5 separate regions of the Homo sapiens genome follow, and all the other regions are linked to region 2. Evidence: promoter capture Hi-C in 16 types of primary human blood cells and fetal thymus (Javierre and others, 2016). All regions are on one chromosome and are shown on one strand. Each heading gives the region's core, a stretch centred on a gene start or on the middle of the fragment in contact. The rest is flanking DNA. Distances are from core to core; before and after follow the strand shown. Region 1 has its middle 23 kb from the start of AKR1E2. Region 2 holds the start of UCN3 (urocortin 3). Region 3 overlaps AKR1E2 (aldo-keto reductase family 1 member E2). Region 4 has its middle 42 kb from the start of AKR1E2. Region 5 has its middle 5.4 kb from the start of AKR1E2.

Region 1 (2,700 bases), core at 165-2,664, 560 kb after region 2:
GTGGGACCCACACTTCCAGCCCTTTGGAGCCCCTGGGGAAACTCTGAGATATTCCAGTCCCCACCTCTGTGTGTTCTGATGTCACAGGTCCACTCCACAGGAGGACTGGAACACAGAGGTCTGACACAACAGCCAAATCTAAGCTGCACAACTCTATACCTCTAACAAGCAGTTTAGAAAATATGCTGATATTATCGTTTTTATAAAGAAAACCATTTCAAAATTCTGCATGTTTCAAGAAGTTGGAGATAATTTCCTTTATTTTGAGGAAGACAATACTGAACTATGGGAAGATGGACAAGGTTAGTTCCAGCACAGAGAGTCAAGCTCTCGACAGACATTGGCCTGGACACACAGAAGGACAGGGTTCAATACTCTCTACCAAGCAAGAAAATCCTTCTGTTTCCAGGCTACTGGGAAAGCTAGTTCAGAAAAGGTGGGCTCCATATACTCTCATTCCTTTCTGCACCCCTAAAATCCTGAGACAAAGACATATTCCTAAACTAGGCAAATGTTCAAGCAGTCATTGTAGATTCTGAAACCAAAGGGAAGTGTGATTTGCCTCTTGTTGTATTTATTTGTTGTGTTGTTTTTGTTTATTGTTACCCTTCCAAGTCATAATAAGTAACATTTGAGAAGCTGCACTAAGGTGTCAAATGTCGCTCTTGATTACAGGTCAAGTACAATTTCGACAAATATTATTTTAATTGAGTGATTTCTTAACAACGCAGTGTCCTCATTCTGGTAGATGGGCCAAAGAGGCTTAGCTTTATTGCTTTGTTAAAAGTCAGTCACTCTGTGATGAAAGATGCTATTTTGCACGGGCTACTCTATAGATCTACATGAGAGACCTCCTTGAGCTGTGGCTACTTTTCTGCAGGGTTAGGTAGGGATGTGCTCTCCATGGTTCCTGCCAGCAGGAATCCCTCCCTTCCCCTTCCTGGTGCTCCTCCTCCACAAGTACACAGTCCACAGACCTTGAACTTAGGTAGTGAGAGTAAGAAAGGAAGGGAAAAGAAAAAAAGAGGTAAAAATAAACATCTATAAGTTCCATATACACTGCTGTGAGCGAATGTGTGTGCTTTAGCAGGAGAAAAATATTTTAGTATTGAACAAGCCAACTCAACCCGGACTTTTCCTGCAGAATCCTCAAATAATTAAGCATCCAATAGAAAAAATTAAGCCAGTATGTGACATCATCTGGCCTAGTTTCAAGAACAACTCTACATTAAACATTCTTCACTCTTTCACCTGATGGGCAGGTTGAAGTTTGGCATTGCCTTATACCCCATCCCTTGCTGAACACTGGAAAGGAAGTCACCCCTATGATTAGTGAACGTGTGTCTACTTGTCTGGTCTTCTTCTCGTTCAACAACAACATAAACTACAAAAGCCTGGATTTTTTCTAGTGCTAGGAATTTGGATCATTTAAAACATCTGATCAAATTCAGGTAAAATAAAACTAGTGCAGAAATTACCTATGAAAGAAAAATTGAATAAGAATAAAAGATCAGTGTGTTGGTTGCTTTCCCATCAAACTTGTACAAGGATAACATAGGCTCAGATATGTAAACATCTAAAAATTAAGAAACATGTGACATGAAATGTACACAAAATTTAAAACATGAAACTATAGCAAACTGGCTATGTACTGTTGTGTATTTGCTTAGAAACAGAATATTTCAAGAATTGAATTTAACAATGCATGAACTTATTTACAATTAAAAACAACTTTATAAGGCATATTTCTCAATTTTAATACCCAATCCAACAGCCCAATAAAAGTGGAGAAGCCCTTAACACTTCTTGTATCTTTAAAAGACTAACATTTTCTTTAAGACTTACAACTAAATCTTTAAATAAGAATTAGCTATTTTAACATTAGAAGATAACAATTTTTTAAAGGACTGCATTGTTTTTGCTCAGAGAGTTGCATAGAAAAGGACCTTATCCTCCCCTCTTTTTCTGCTACATACACACACACACACACACACACACACACACATATATACACATCCCCCTCACAAATCAAGTCTTTTCATTTAAAACAAATATTTTGGATGAGGTAATCCTAAGAGTGTCTGAAAGACAACTGTCTCTTTTTTGGTGGGGGAAAGAGTGGAATTGGAGAGAAATCATAAAAAACACTGATGTAGATAATTAGTTGAAGAAATAATATTCATGTTTTTAATAAAATTTTTAAAATTCATCTAAAGCGGTTACTTTATTCATTTGTTTTTACATTAATTCATCTAACAACTATTAATTAAAACCACTAGGAAGTGGAAATTAAAATACTTAAGCAAGTCTTTTTGGTTGCAATTAACAAAACCCCTCTGAGCTGGCAGAATGCAGCACCAAGGGCTGTGGTACAGATCTGAGGCACCTAAGGGAAGGCAGAGGGGCAGCAGGGCCTCCCAGGGAACCATGCCACAGGCTCGCTGTGACCCAAGGTGACAAACCTCTCATCTCTGTGTCTCTCTTCTGCTTTGTTCTTTTCTCTCCTTGCAAACAAACATGTTCTGATTTTGGGTGTGCATGAGTCAAAACAACCCAAACTCTCCTCAGCCCTGCCTGCAGGACACCAGTTAAGCGGCTTACAGACACTCGTTAGAGTTTGAAATCCAAATCCACATTCCAGGAAGAGAGCATCCTGTTGGCCTTGCCCTGCTCTCATGACATCTCAGGTTCATCAGTTAT
Region 2 (2,700 bases), core at 29-2,528:
CTGGGAGCTGTGGCAGAGCCAAGCACTGAAACGTGAGGGACCTGGGTCAGCCTCCAATTCCCAGCACCTCACAGGGAGAGGACAGGACATGAAGCAGCAAAGGCAGGAGGCAAACAGTACTGATCACACATCTCTGCCAAGTGCAGAGCTATTCCTGTGGGCTCCGTTTGTCTGCAAACACTGATAAGAAGTTAAACTGAAACTAGACCACTTAAAACGTTTTAAAAATCTCACATTTGTTATTTTTGGTAGGTGGCTATGCTTGGGAAAGAAATTGCGAACAGGAATTTTCAGAAAACATAAACATCAAACATCCATCTCCCCTTCACAGGTAGGAGTTAGCCATTGTAGGTATCTGCACACACCCCCGCAATGTTCCTAGTGTGGCAAAGGGCTCTGGGCTTTGGTGGCAGAGGACCTGGCTGGGGAAACTCCCTTGCCTCTGACTTTTCTTGGGTGAATCCCTTAACCTGCATTTCACTTGCCGCGTCCTAGGAAGGAGACGTTACCTGCTTCACAGGTGTGCCCGAGAGTGACGGGAGATGGCACAGGTGAAGGTTTGTGGCACAGGTAAACAGTAAGTGCAGGTGTCCTCGCTGCTTTGCAGGCGGCGTGGAGTCATGTCCTGTGGCTCCCATTAGCCCCGGCATCCCTACCCCATCCCCATTTGTAAACTGTCTCCGAGGACTGACTTTCCTGTGCACAGCTGTGCTCTGTTCAGAGAAAACAGATTTGTGTGAACACCTTCTGCCTCTGATCTAACACCTTTGGAAAGAGGGTCTCTCTATACCAACGTGGGAATGTGATTGTGCCTCCCTGAGAAACTTCCCCTGGTCCCTTTGGGGCTGATTTCTGCTGATTGGGTGGGGGGCGTTCAGCATCGCTCCCTTGGGCTTCCACCCAGGGGCGCTAGCAGCTCTCATCTCTCACACCTGTCTAGTGCATGGCACCTCCTGCTTAAATTAGGGCAGATACATTTACCCTTCATAAGTCAGTCCCAGCCACAAGCTTACCCGAGAGTGGACTTCCCTCCGCAGCGAAACGCTCAGGGAGGCCGGCGCAGCTTCAGGGCCAGGAGGGCGGCCCCGTGCACGTCCCCATGAACTTGTGGCTGCTCCGGGGTCTCGGCTCCTGCTTCTCCGGTATTGTTCCTAAGTGGGCTGTGATATTCCCTCTCTATGGAAACGGTCCCCTCCCCTGTGTGTATATAAAAGTGACAGATCACAGGGTGGATCGTAATTCCAGACGTGGTGTCTACGCTGGGATGAGATTTCATTTAAAATACAACCAGAACCAGCCGTCCACGTCATGCAGACGACAGGTGCTCCAACCTCGACCCCTCCCACCTCTGCTTCCCACCCCGCCCTTCTACCCCCCAACTCCTTTTGCATCCTAGCAACTTGCTTCATTGATAAAAGCAAAGAACAAAAAAGAAAAAGAAGAAATAAAAACTCAAAACAAAACAAAACAAAAATCCTGGTAAAGTGAGAAGCAGTGTCTTTGAAGAATTTTATTGCTGATCTTAGTTCTAACTAATTTCAGTTTCCCCCACATTCCCCTTGCCCTAACTCTCCTTCTGTAAATGTAGAGCCTGGACCTGCTTTGAAAGCAGAGAAGGGGTTTAAAATCCACCTGTTGCCGTGTTGTTTTGTGGGTTCTGACCGTGCAGCGTCATCTGGCCGCACACGTAGCCCCTTGTGCTTGTCACACACTCGGTGCCTACTCCCCACATAAAGTCTAATTATGCAAGTTTCTCCTTTCACATTCCTTGGGCTCTTCTGCCGTACCCTCAGTGAAACAACACGAAAGTTTAAGATTTCTCTGCAGCCTGCCGCGAAAATGACTGAGCACCATCTATTTGTTAATACGTTTGAGGGGAAAGCTCTACACCTGCATTTTTCTCTGGATACCTGAAACTCAACCATTCCTTTGGGCTATGACAGCAGGTCATCATACACCAGAGGTCTGGAGGTTTTAGTGGGAAATGGCTTGGATTTTACTCGTTTATGCATCCTATATTTATTGAGGACTTACTGTGTACCAGGTATTGCCAAGACACCCACGAGTTCAGAGATAAGTAAGTTGTGGCCCCTAACCATACAGGGCCTCATGGTTTAGAAAGGTAGGGAAGGCTGGGTGCGGTGGCTTATGCCAGTAATCCCAGCACTGTGGGAGGCCGAGGCGGGCAGATCACGAGGTCAGGAGTTCAAGACTAGCCTGGCCAACATGGTGAAACCCCGGCTCTACTAAGAATACAAAAAAAATTAGCCGGGCATGGTGGCGAGTGCCTGTAATTCCAACTACTCAGGAGGCCAAGGCAAGAGAATCACTTGAACCTGGGAGGTGGGGGTTGCAGTGAGCTGAGATGGCGCCATTGCACTCCAGCCTGGGCAACAGAGTGAGACTCCATCTCAAAAGAAAGAAAGAAAGAAAGGTAGGTAAAAAATGCTACAGAAGAGAGCAGTCCTGTCTACTCAAGACAGGAGAGGAGAGCAGGAGGGGTTTCAGACAGAAAGGATGGATCAGCATGGACTGAGCCAGGGCTGAGAGGAACGGGAGAGAAGGAGGACGATGGGAGGGAGGTGTTGGTGGGTGCAGAGGCTGCTCTGCACTAAGGTGCTCCAAAGGCCTGCGGAGTTGGGAGTTTATTCCATATGTAATGGGGAGATGTGGGAGACTACGGTCTGTTGACCCCTTATT
Region 3 (2,700 bases), core at 92-2,591, 520 kb after region 2:
CCCACCGGGAGGAACGAACAACTCCAGACGCGCCACCTTAAGAGCTGTAACACTCACCGCAAAGGTCCTCACCTTCACTCCTAAGCCAGTGAGACCATGAACCCACCAGAAGGAAGAAACTCCGAACACATCCGAACATCAGAAGGAACAAACTCCGGACACACCACCTTTAAGAACTGTAACACTCACCGCAAGGGTCCGCGGCTTCATTCCTGAAGTCAGTGAGACCAAGAACCCACCAATTCCGGACACACCATGTGGAGCAGATGCCGGTCAGTCAGCAGTGCTCAATTCTAACCACTACAAGAGACCTGCAGTCTCGTTCCAAGAGGCCCGTCAGCAGCCATTGGAGAGAACTGAGTTTACAGTTTAGCCAAATCCATACCTTTCAGGCTTAAGGTTGGCTGGTCACCCAGAGCTGCTCTGGGCCATTCAAAGAGCAGGACGCCTGAGAAAGGAGAGGAGAAGGGCATGCGGGCAGCAGGTGAGCTGGACAAGGGCCCGGCAGGGAGAGTGCTGTAGACACCATGAGGAACCTGCCCATCCCCTGGTCCTCCCATCGTGGGTGGCCTGCCTCTCCTGCCAATGGCAGGGCTATGCCCACCTGCAGCCAGCTTGGCATGCACAGCAAGCCTGAGGGCACAGGCACTGTTACAGATGGGTCAATAAACCCCAATGGCGATGCTTGCTTGGCACAACCAAACCGAGCCCTCAGGATGCAGCAGTGCCTTGTGGAGCTCATGGGCAGCTCAGACACCAAGAGGGAGCATACTCCTGGGCACATGCTGTCTATGAAAATGCAGCTGTGCAGCTGGCCCCAGGATCACACACACCTATGCTGACATGATCAATGGGTGTGGGCTGCCACCAATGCCTGTCGTTGCCTGTGAGATCATCACAGGTGACATCCGTGACTGAGGGTGACTGGCAGCTAAGAGCATCAGGTACTTCCATACGCCAGGCACTATGCTATCCCTTCACTGTATCATTACATTTCACCCTCAGTGATCCTATCAGAAGGGTGCTCTACTGAAGAAACAAAGGCTGAGAGAGGTCATGCAGCAGTTAAATCGTGAGTGAGACTGTGGGAATCCCAAGTCCATGGCCCTGACTGGGTTACAGACTATGTCGTCAGGGTTGAAGCCACACAGAGTTCCTTCACATAGCTCCAAAAATAGATTTCACACACTTCACACACTTCTGTGGTTCTTGGCTTAGGTGAAAAGATTGCCCTGAAAAGGACCGCTGCCTCTCTGTGTTCTGCACACGCTCCACCTGTTCCAGTCTTCACTCCTGCCTCTCAGAAGTCACTAGACAGGAGTCAGGACCAGAATCTTCCCACACAACTCAAAGCAGTGCCCTCAGGCCACGTGGGCATGCCTCCATGCGACAGAGGTGGTGACCTGTCCACCAACTGCCTCCCCTTTCTCCTGAGTGCACGCTTAGGAGACATCCAGCCTCCCCTGTGGGCGAGCGCAGCCATGTGACTGGTGCACATGCTCCAGCCTGGCCCACACAAATCATCCCAACAAGATGCTCTTCCCTCCTTCCTAATCTTGGGCTGGATGGAGAAGACACCAACACCCTAGGGGAGAAAGGGCCCTAAGATGGAAGGAGCCTGGGTCCTTTGATCGCTGAGGGAAGGTCAACCACCAACACCCACAGTGCAGAGGGAGAAGCCCCTGTTGCATCAAGCTCCGCAACCCTGAGGCTGTATGCTACAGCAGTCATCCCTTCCCATCTAACACATGATCTGAAACCCGCCAAATAAAAGAAGGAATACACCTACCTGGATATTCTCTTTAATGTGACTTGGGGTGATAGATCCGGGGATCACTATCACATTCCTCTGGATTTGAAATCGGATCAAAATCTGCAAGGAAACAAAAAGTCTACTATCACACAAAGGGAAATCCCATGTAGTCTAAGTTATTTTCTAACATGTGAGTTTTATCATGCAGTAAGAGTCCAAGAATCAATGACAGCAGCTATTGTTACTGGCATTCACTGAGCAGCTCTGTCAATATGTTGGTAATGACAGCCATCAGCCCAAGGAGGAGATCAGAGAATCTGCTTAATGAGAATTCCTTAACATGCGCCCAGCCCCCCACTGGACATTAGAACAAAGAAGACTAGAATAAATAACTTTTCTGTACCATCTCATACTAACCATGCATGCAGTTGGTGGGGCAGAGGGAGAAGGCCTGGAAACTCCTCCTCTGAGTCTAGACAGGCTCGGAGGCAAGAGTACATGGCTTGAGTGACTAGAAATGCGGCTGCAGACCAAATTCTGCTTGACGCTGGGAGGTTCTAATGAGTCATGGACTCACCTGGGTGAGCCAGTCCCTTCCTGGGACCTGCCAAGCCCCAGGACTCCCCAAGGATGTAGAGCGGTCAGAGAACCCCACCTGGCTCAGAACAGCCCTCCCTCCCTACCTGAGCAGGAGACTTGCCGTGCTCCTTTGCAATCCTCTTGATCACAGGGTTGTCTATCAGGTCAACCCCCTCACTAGAGAGACACAGTACAGGGGAGTGAGCCAGGAGATCCAACATGGATGCCCCTTTCTTTAGAAAGAAGAAATCTTTGTCCAAAATGAAAGATTTATTTTCTGATCATGACACATGCCGACTACAGGAAATTTTAAAATGCAGAAAAGCACATCGCCCCACATTTCCAGTATGGAGATAACCACTGCTAAC
Region 4 (2,700 bases), core at 48-2,547, 580 kb after region 2:
TTCTATTTGCACAGAGTGCTGGTGCTACTTTGCATGTTGAGCGTCGACAAGAAAATGACACAAAGCAACTTGCCAGCCATAACTTTACACTTAGTTCCATACATATTTGGAGTTAGCCGATGGCGTTTCAGCAAGCACATATTTTATAGGATGCCTTTAATCATAAGCCACAGCTTTTAATTTTTGTTCCTCTTGCCATGTTATAGATATGGCTGATGACATCTTCCTCCTTGTGGTAGATAAAGAAAAAGCACAAGAAAAATCATTTCCAGGCTGTGGTCTCACAGTGACTTGTGGAGCAAGCCTATAAATAAGGTACTGTGGATAATAAGCATGCTGTTTTCGTATTTTTTAAATCTTCCTTTTAAAATGCATTTTAGAAGGAATAGACCAAGCATGCATGAAATTTATGTAAGTGCTGTTGGCAGAAACATTACATATTTCCCCCTTTCAAATTGAAATTTTGAAACATTAAAACATGGTATTTATGACATAAAGTGAAATGTCTCACTCTATCCAAACATGTATTTCTCAGGCTTTCTATATTTATATAAAAAATAATGTTTCCCTTAACATTTTGCTAGTTTTCTCTCGTCATTAATTATATAAAGAGATCTAATTTAATATTTGCCAATGTTTTATTCACAAATGTGCTTCGTTGAAGAAGTAAATGGTTTAAATATTTTTATGATTTTATTTGGTCCAAACAGGTTTAGACCACCGTTTACCCAAATAGATTTGCTTTTGAAAACTCCAAATGGCAAAAAAGTTATATTTTTAGTATCAACATTTTGGATGTTTAGGGAAAGTTACTATTATATTGATATTGGTATAAATCGCAAATTTTCCAGCAGTCATTTTTAAAACCAGGATTTATTCAGACAGCAAGTAGTAAATTTATTTGAGATGATTATTTATACAAATAAAATATCTCTATTTGTTAAAACCTTAGGTACTGATTCTTATGAAGATGAGAGTCAATAACTCAGAAATAGCCAAATAATATTTGAAGGGAATTGACCTGCCAGTGGGGCCTCACATAATGTTAATCTTGGTTGTATATTAAAATAATGACAGCAATGATAGCTAACATTTCACGAGTAATTACTAACCACAAGGCACTGTAAGTTATGCCTTATATATATTATCTCATTTAATCCTCATAAGCAACTTATGAGGTAGATAATACTATTACCATTTTGAAAGCAGATAAAACTGAGGCTTTACAGATACTACAGATATTGTCCACTGTCATTCCACCAGGAAGTATCAGAAGGAAGTCTCTAACTCTATAACCTGTGGTCTTAGCCACTGTTCTACACAGTCAATGGTGAACAGAGGGGTGGGGTTACAAGACTATGGTACCTGCATGGATCCTAGAGGCTATAAATACATATATTTGCCTGGACAAAACTAACAACACGACAACCTGTAGTTGTTATTGTAACACTTTTCAATTTCAGATCAGGATGTGAGGTCTGACAGGTATCAGTAGCTAAGGGAACAGGCTGGACAGACTCTCTGATACCCTGGCTATCTTACACATTTTTGGGAATAATGATTGTTGTAACTGTAGGTTAAATGTGCTGAATTACAATGAACCAGTCACAACATTACCTTTTCCAAGTCATTCACGAAAGATGTGATGTTAGGTCAGATTGCACATATTTCTTTGGGGCATTCCTAGAATATTGTCCTTATGAAATTCCAATGCTGTATTTAAGAATACATTAAAGAAAAAGAGAGAGCTACCAATAGACTGATGAAGGAGAACCCATTTTGCTGGTGTTATCTGGACGTTGAGCTAAACAGGATGCAGGCAGTTGTATTCTAAAGTCATAACTATAAAACATATAATTTTTGAAATCTAAGCAAAGGCTATATAAATATAATTACTTTCCCTAAACTACTTATTGTCTTATTTCTAACTGTAGTAAGCAATTACCTCTCCAGCTAATATTTACGGAATCCATTTCAATAAGAAACAAGGAAAAAAGTAGAAGATTAATTTTTTTAGCCATACTTAACCTCTCAGTCACATTTTAACATGTCTTCACTGCTCCAAAATGTGGCACATATGCACTTGGAAATAGAAATTGAAGTTTGACTTGGTGGATATGGTCCATATATTAAAAGATACGGTCAGAAAAGGCATTTCTTGAGCTGTATCATTAACTTACTGTGAAGTATAGGGTGTAGACAAATGACTGCTAACGGAGCAGCCTACCTGTGTAACGGAACTTCAGTTTGGTCTGAAAACAATGGTCAGTGTTTGAATGTTGGGGTTTCACACAGGAGAGATGAATACAGTGGCTTTCCAGGGGCCGTTAATATGTGGAGTGGAGAAGCAGTCTAGGAATGGCCTTCTCACCAGGGAAGAGAGAACAGGAGTGTATAACTGTTCATCAACATCAGAACTGAAAGTTTTTGGTAAGGTATTACTTGCTGGTCATCTTCCAGACCCATTTCCATTACCTATTGGCTTTGTGTGGCTGTTTAGATAATGCCACATGAGATGCTCAGAATTTTGGACTGAGAAACCTGCTGATCAGCCAGATATATCCAGCGATCACTGGATTTTCTAAATAATTTCTGTTGTTCACTCTTCATTTCTCTACCTGGCAATCTCAGCAACTACCAACTCAAAGAGGAAGAAGACGTTCATTCCCATAATACCCTTCTTACTTCTCTAGGAAGCTG
Region 5 (2,700 bases), core at 176-2,675, 540 kb after region 2:
GCAGTTTTATTTAAAGATTCTCAACATATAACACATTGTCAAGGGAAAAGGGAGCATGAATATGAAGTGCAGCATGAACACACTTTTTAAAAGTGCATTTTGGTAGCTCCATGGATAGCCTGTTCTTAAGGATGAGGGAAGTTAACGCTGGGAGTGAGTGAATATTTTAGGTTTAGATATAGGCATTTCTTTATCTAGTTGCTTTATTGGGTATCTTACACTGAATAATAATGTATAGGGAATAGTCTCTCTGGGGCATCTTTGCACAGTGGCTCATTCTAAATCCCCATCACTGGTGCATGCATTGAGGGAATAACACACATCTGCTACAGCCTGTGTGTATGTTTCTCAGTGTTTGACACAGCTTCACACAACCTTCATCATCACCTCAGCAAACTCAGGGCTAGACCTTTTGAGACAACAGAGCAACAAGTGTGATTTCTCTGCACACATATGATGTTGAGAGATGAGGACAGGGAGAAGTGCAGAAACAACAGCACACCTTTTGTTTTTTTTTTTTGCAGCTGGACAGATAAGCACACTCAGGGGAGAAAACGTAGGGTCCACTAGGGATGAGAGAGTAGAAACCAGCAACAGAAATGCCAGCTGCCCATGAAGAATCAAAGAAGCAGCAAACAAAAGCTAAACGCTGTCCTGCTGGTGGCAGCTCTGCTAAGCCTGTTTTGATAGACTTGAATTTTTGCACACCTCACAACAAAGCACTCAGCCTTTCAGTTCTTGCTTTGAGTCAATTGTTCTAATAACATCATTAACCCGGGGAACAGCACTAAGTGATTCTGTTTGGGTTGAAGCCAGTAAGAAGCCCAAGGACGAAATGTACCACTTCATGCCGAATCTTTACAAACACCATTCCTGGCACTAAAGGTTTACTTGACTTTTCTCCCCAGTAGCCAAGGGACCTATCTTCTGCCAAGGTTTCAATGGAGATGGCCAATCGGAGTCATCTAAGCCAAAATAAACCTCTTTTTGTCCTCCAAGAGCAGATTTGCTTGTGTGAATGATGCAGTTGTTATCTTGCCAAGTCAACAGCTTTAGAAGTGAATAGACTACTTAGAGGCCGGGGATTATACATGTACAAAAAGGGGAAAGACTCCACAAAGAGGATGTGAGATTTATGAACTTTGAGAAATAGCATTTGGCTGAGCCAGTGACGACAAGATCAAGTAGGGAAGCATGGGCCTCTGCGCCGAACCACTGTGCTAGAGCTTTGTGGACAAGAAATTCCATTTGTCTGGTTATTCACCAGGACTCCAAGTATACTGTTTTGTCTAATAAGAAGCTAAAATGGCCAAGTTCAGCTCAAAGGAAATACCACGGCCACTCAGGCAGCAATACTAGTTTACAGAATCTGGACAAAATTTAACTGCTGTAATGGAAGAGGGCTCAAGAAGGAATGCATGAAGTCTATACCTTAAGTTCTGTTTAAAGTGACACAAAAATAATAGCTTGTCATGTGAGCAACCAAAAAAAAAGCATCATGTGGCCAGATGCGTTGGCTCATGCCTGTAATCCCAGCACTTTGGAAGGCTGAGGCGGGTGGATCACAAGGTCAGGAGTTCGAGACCAGCCTAACCAACATGGTGAAACCTTGTCTCTACTAAAAATACAAAAATTAGCCAGGCGTGGTGGCGCATGCCTGTAATCTCAGCTACTCAGGAGGCTGAGGCAGGAGAATCGCTTGAACCTGGGAGGCAGAGGTTGCAGTGAGCCAAGACTGTGCCACTGCACTCTGCCCTGGGTGACAGAGCGAGACTCTATCTCAAAAACAAAAAGCATCATGTTTTTTAGTCATAAATGGATTACGACAGAAAAAAAAATCACTGTGGTGTACTGTCAGAAGGCCCTCAAAACACTTTCCAGTATTCAGAGTGCAGAGGAAAAAAATCGGGAGGAAATTCTGCTTGTAAGTGCTCATTAGACATTCCCAATAAAGGAAAATCCCTTCTTCAAATCTCACATAAACTGGCCCCACATACACAGAAAGCAACCGGTAAGTTGCTAAAGTAAAGGATGAAAAGGCAGCCACAAATAATAGTCCACGAGTTTCTGAGGACAAGATTATGATATTATAAGGAGCTCTTTTTCACTGAAGTTGCCCAACGCCAACTATCCTATCTTTTACCACAACTTAACTGTTAGACTTTCACCAGAAATGTCTGCCTTATCTTTGTCTCATGATGAAAATAAAGACTGTCCAAGCAACCACAAGAACCATAAATGTGGTTCTCATCGATGGGGACACACGGGGGACAGCGACTTGTCAATCTCAGACTGTGCAGGCATATACCCTTCAAAGCAGTGGTTCCTCTGCATTATAGCACTGTGTGACACAGAGAAAAAAAATAGAAACAGACGATGGTCTGTAGCAAGGTTGCTTCTGGAGGTATTAAATTATGCATCTCTCCTCTCTCTGCTTCTCCTTCTTCCCTCTTTCTTCATTTCCTGCTGTACCCTCTCCATGTGGCTTTAATAACTGCGAGCTTCTGCCTGTATCTGAAATGGCTACAGGTGTTGCCATCACATTACCAATGTGTTGATTTAATAGAGTATTATTGTGGCATTTCACTCCACTGCCTGAACTTTGTGGAAAATGGCAACCTTGAATGGGGTGGAAGACACTCATCTCCCCCTCAAGTGAATTCTTTGCAGATTTATGTCTATCAGTGATTGATTATGACC

The links. The method cuts DNA at HindIII sites, captures the fragments that hold promoters and counts their contacts. A CHiCAGO score of 5 or more calls a contact.
Region 1: a contact is called between a fragment that was not itself captured here and the fragment with the promoter of UCN3 in region 2, in 6 of 17 cell types (erythroblasts, total CD4 T cells, neutrophils and 3 more). The highest score is 10.8, in erythroblasts.
Region 3: a fragment that was not itself captured here is called in contact with the fragment with the promoter of UCN3 in region 2 in 4 of 17 cell types (total CD4 T cells, activated CD4 T cells, M1 macrophages and 1 more); the score reaches 7.3 in total CD4 T cells.
Region 4: a fragment that was not itself captured here is called in contact with the fragment with the promoter of UCN3 in region 2 in 1 of 17 cell types (erythroblasts); the score reaches 6.6 in erythroblasts.
Region 5: a fragment that was not itself captured here is called in contact with the fragment with the promoter of UCN3 in region 2 in 5 of 17 cell types (neutrophils, non-activated CD4 T cells, naive CD8 T cells and 2 more); the score reaches 6.3 in neutrophils.

The regions. Positions count from the first base shown.
Region 1 is chr10:4,801,505-4,804,204 of GRCh38, reverse strand. No RefSeq gene overlaps it. Among named protein-coding and RNA genes, the nearest start is that of AKR1E2, 23 kb to the left of the region's middle. The HindIII fragment of the contact is 3,618 bases long and covers 1-2,700 here.
Region 2 is chr10:5,363,544-5,366,243 of GRCh38, reverse strand. It overlaps UCN3 (urocortin 3), which reads right to left and starts at 1,278. Exons shown (of 2, transcript NM_053049.4): 1 at 1,014-1,278. The HindIII fragment of the contact is 8,098 bases long and covers 1,011-2,700 here.
Region 3 is chr10:4,841,594-4,844,293 of GRCh38, reverse strand. AKR1E2 (aldo-keto reductase family 1 member E2) reads right to left here. Exons shown (of 10, transcript NM_001040177.3): 7 at 2,437-2,509; 8 at 1,790-1,873. Among named protein-coding and RNA genes, the nearest start is that of AKR1E2, 17 kb to the right of the region's middle. The HindIII fragment of the contact is 2,933 bases long and covers 1-2,700 here.
Region 4 is chr10:4,782,397-4,785,096 of GRCh38, reverse strand. No RefSeq gene overlaps it. Among named protein-coding and RNA genes, the nearest start is that of AKR1E2, 42 kb to the left of the region's middle. The HindIII fragment of the contact is 3,177 bases long and covers 1-2,700 here.
Region 5 is chr10:4,819,410-4,822,109 of GRCh38, reverse strand. No RefSeq gene overlaps it. Among named protein-coding and RNA genes, the nearest start is that of AKR1E2, 5.4 kb to the left of the region's middle. The HindIII fragment of the contact is 5,131 bases long and covers 1-2,700 here.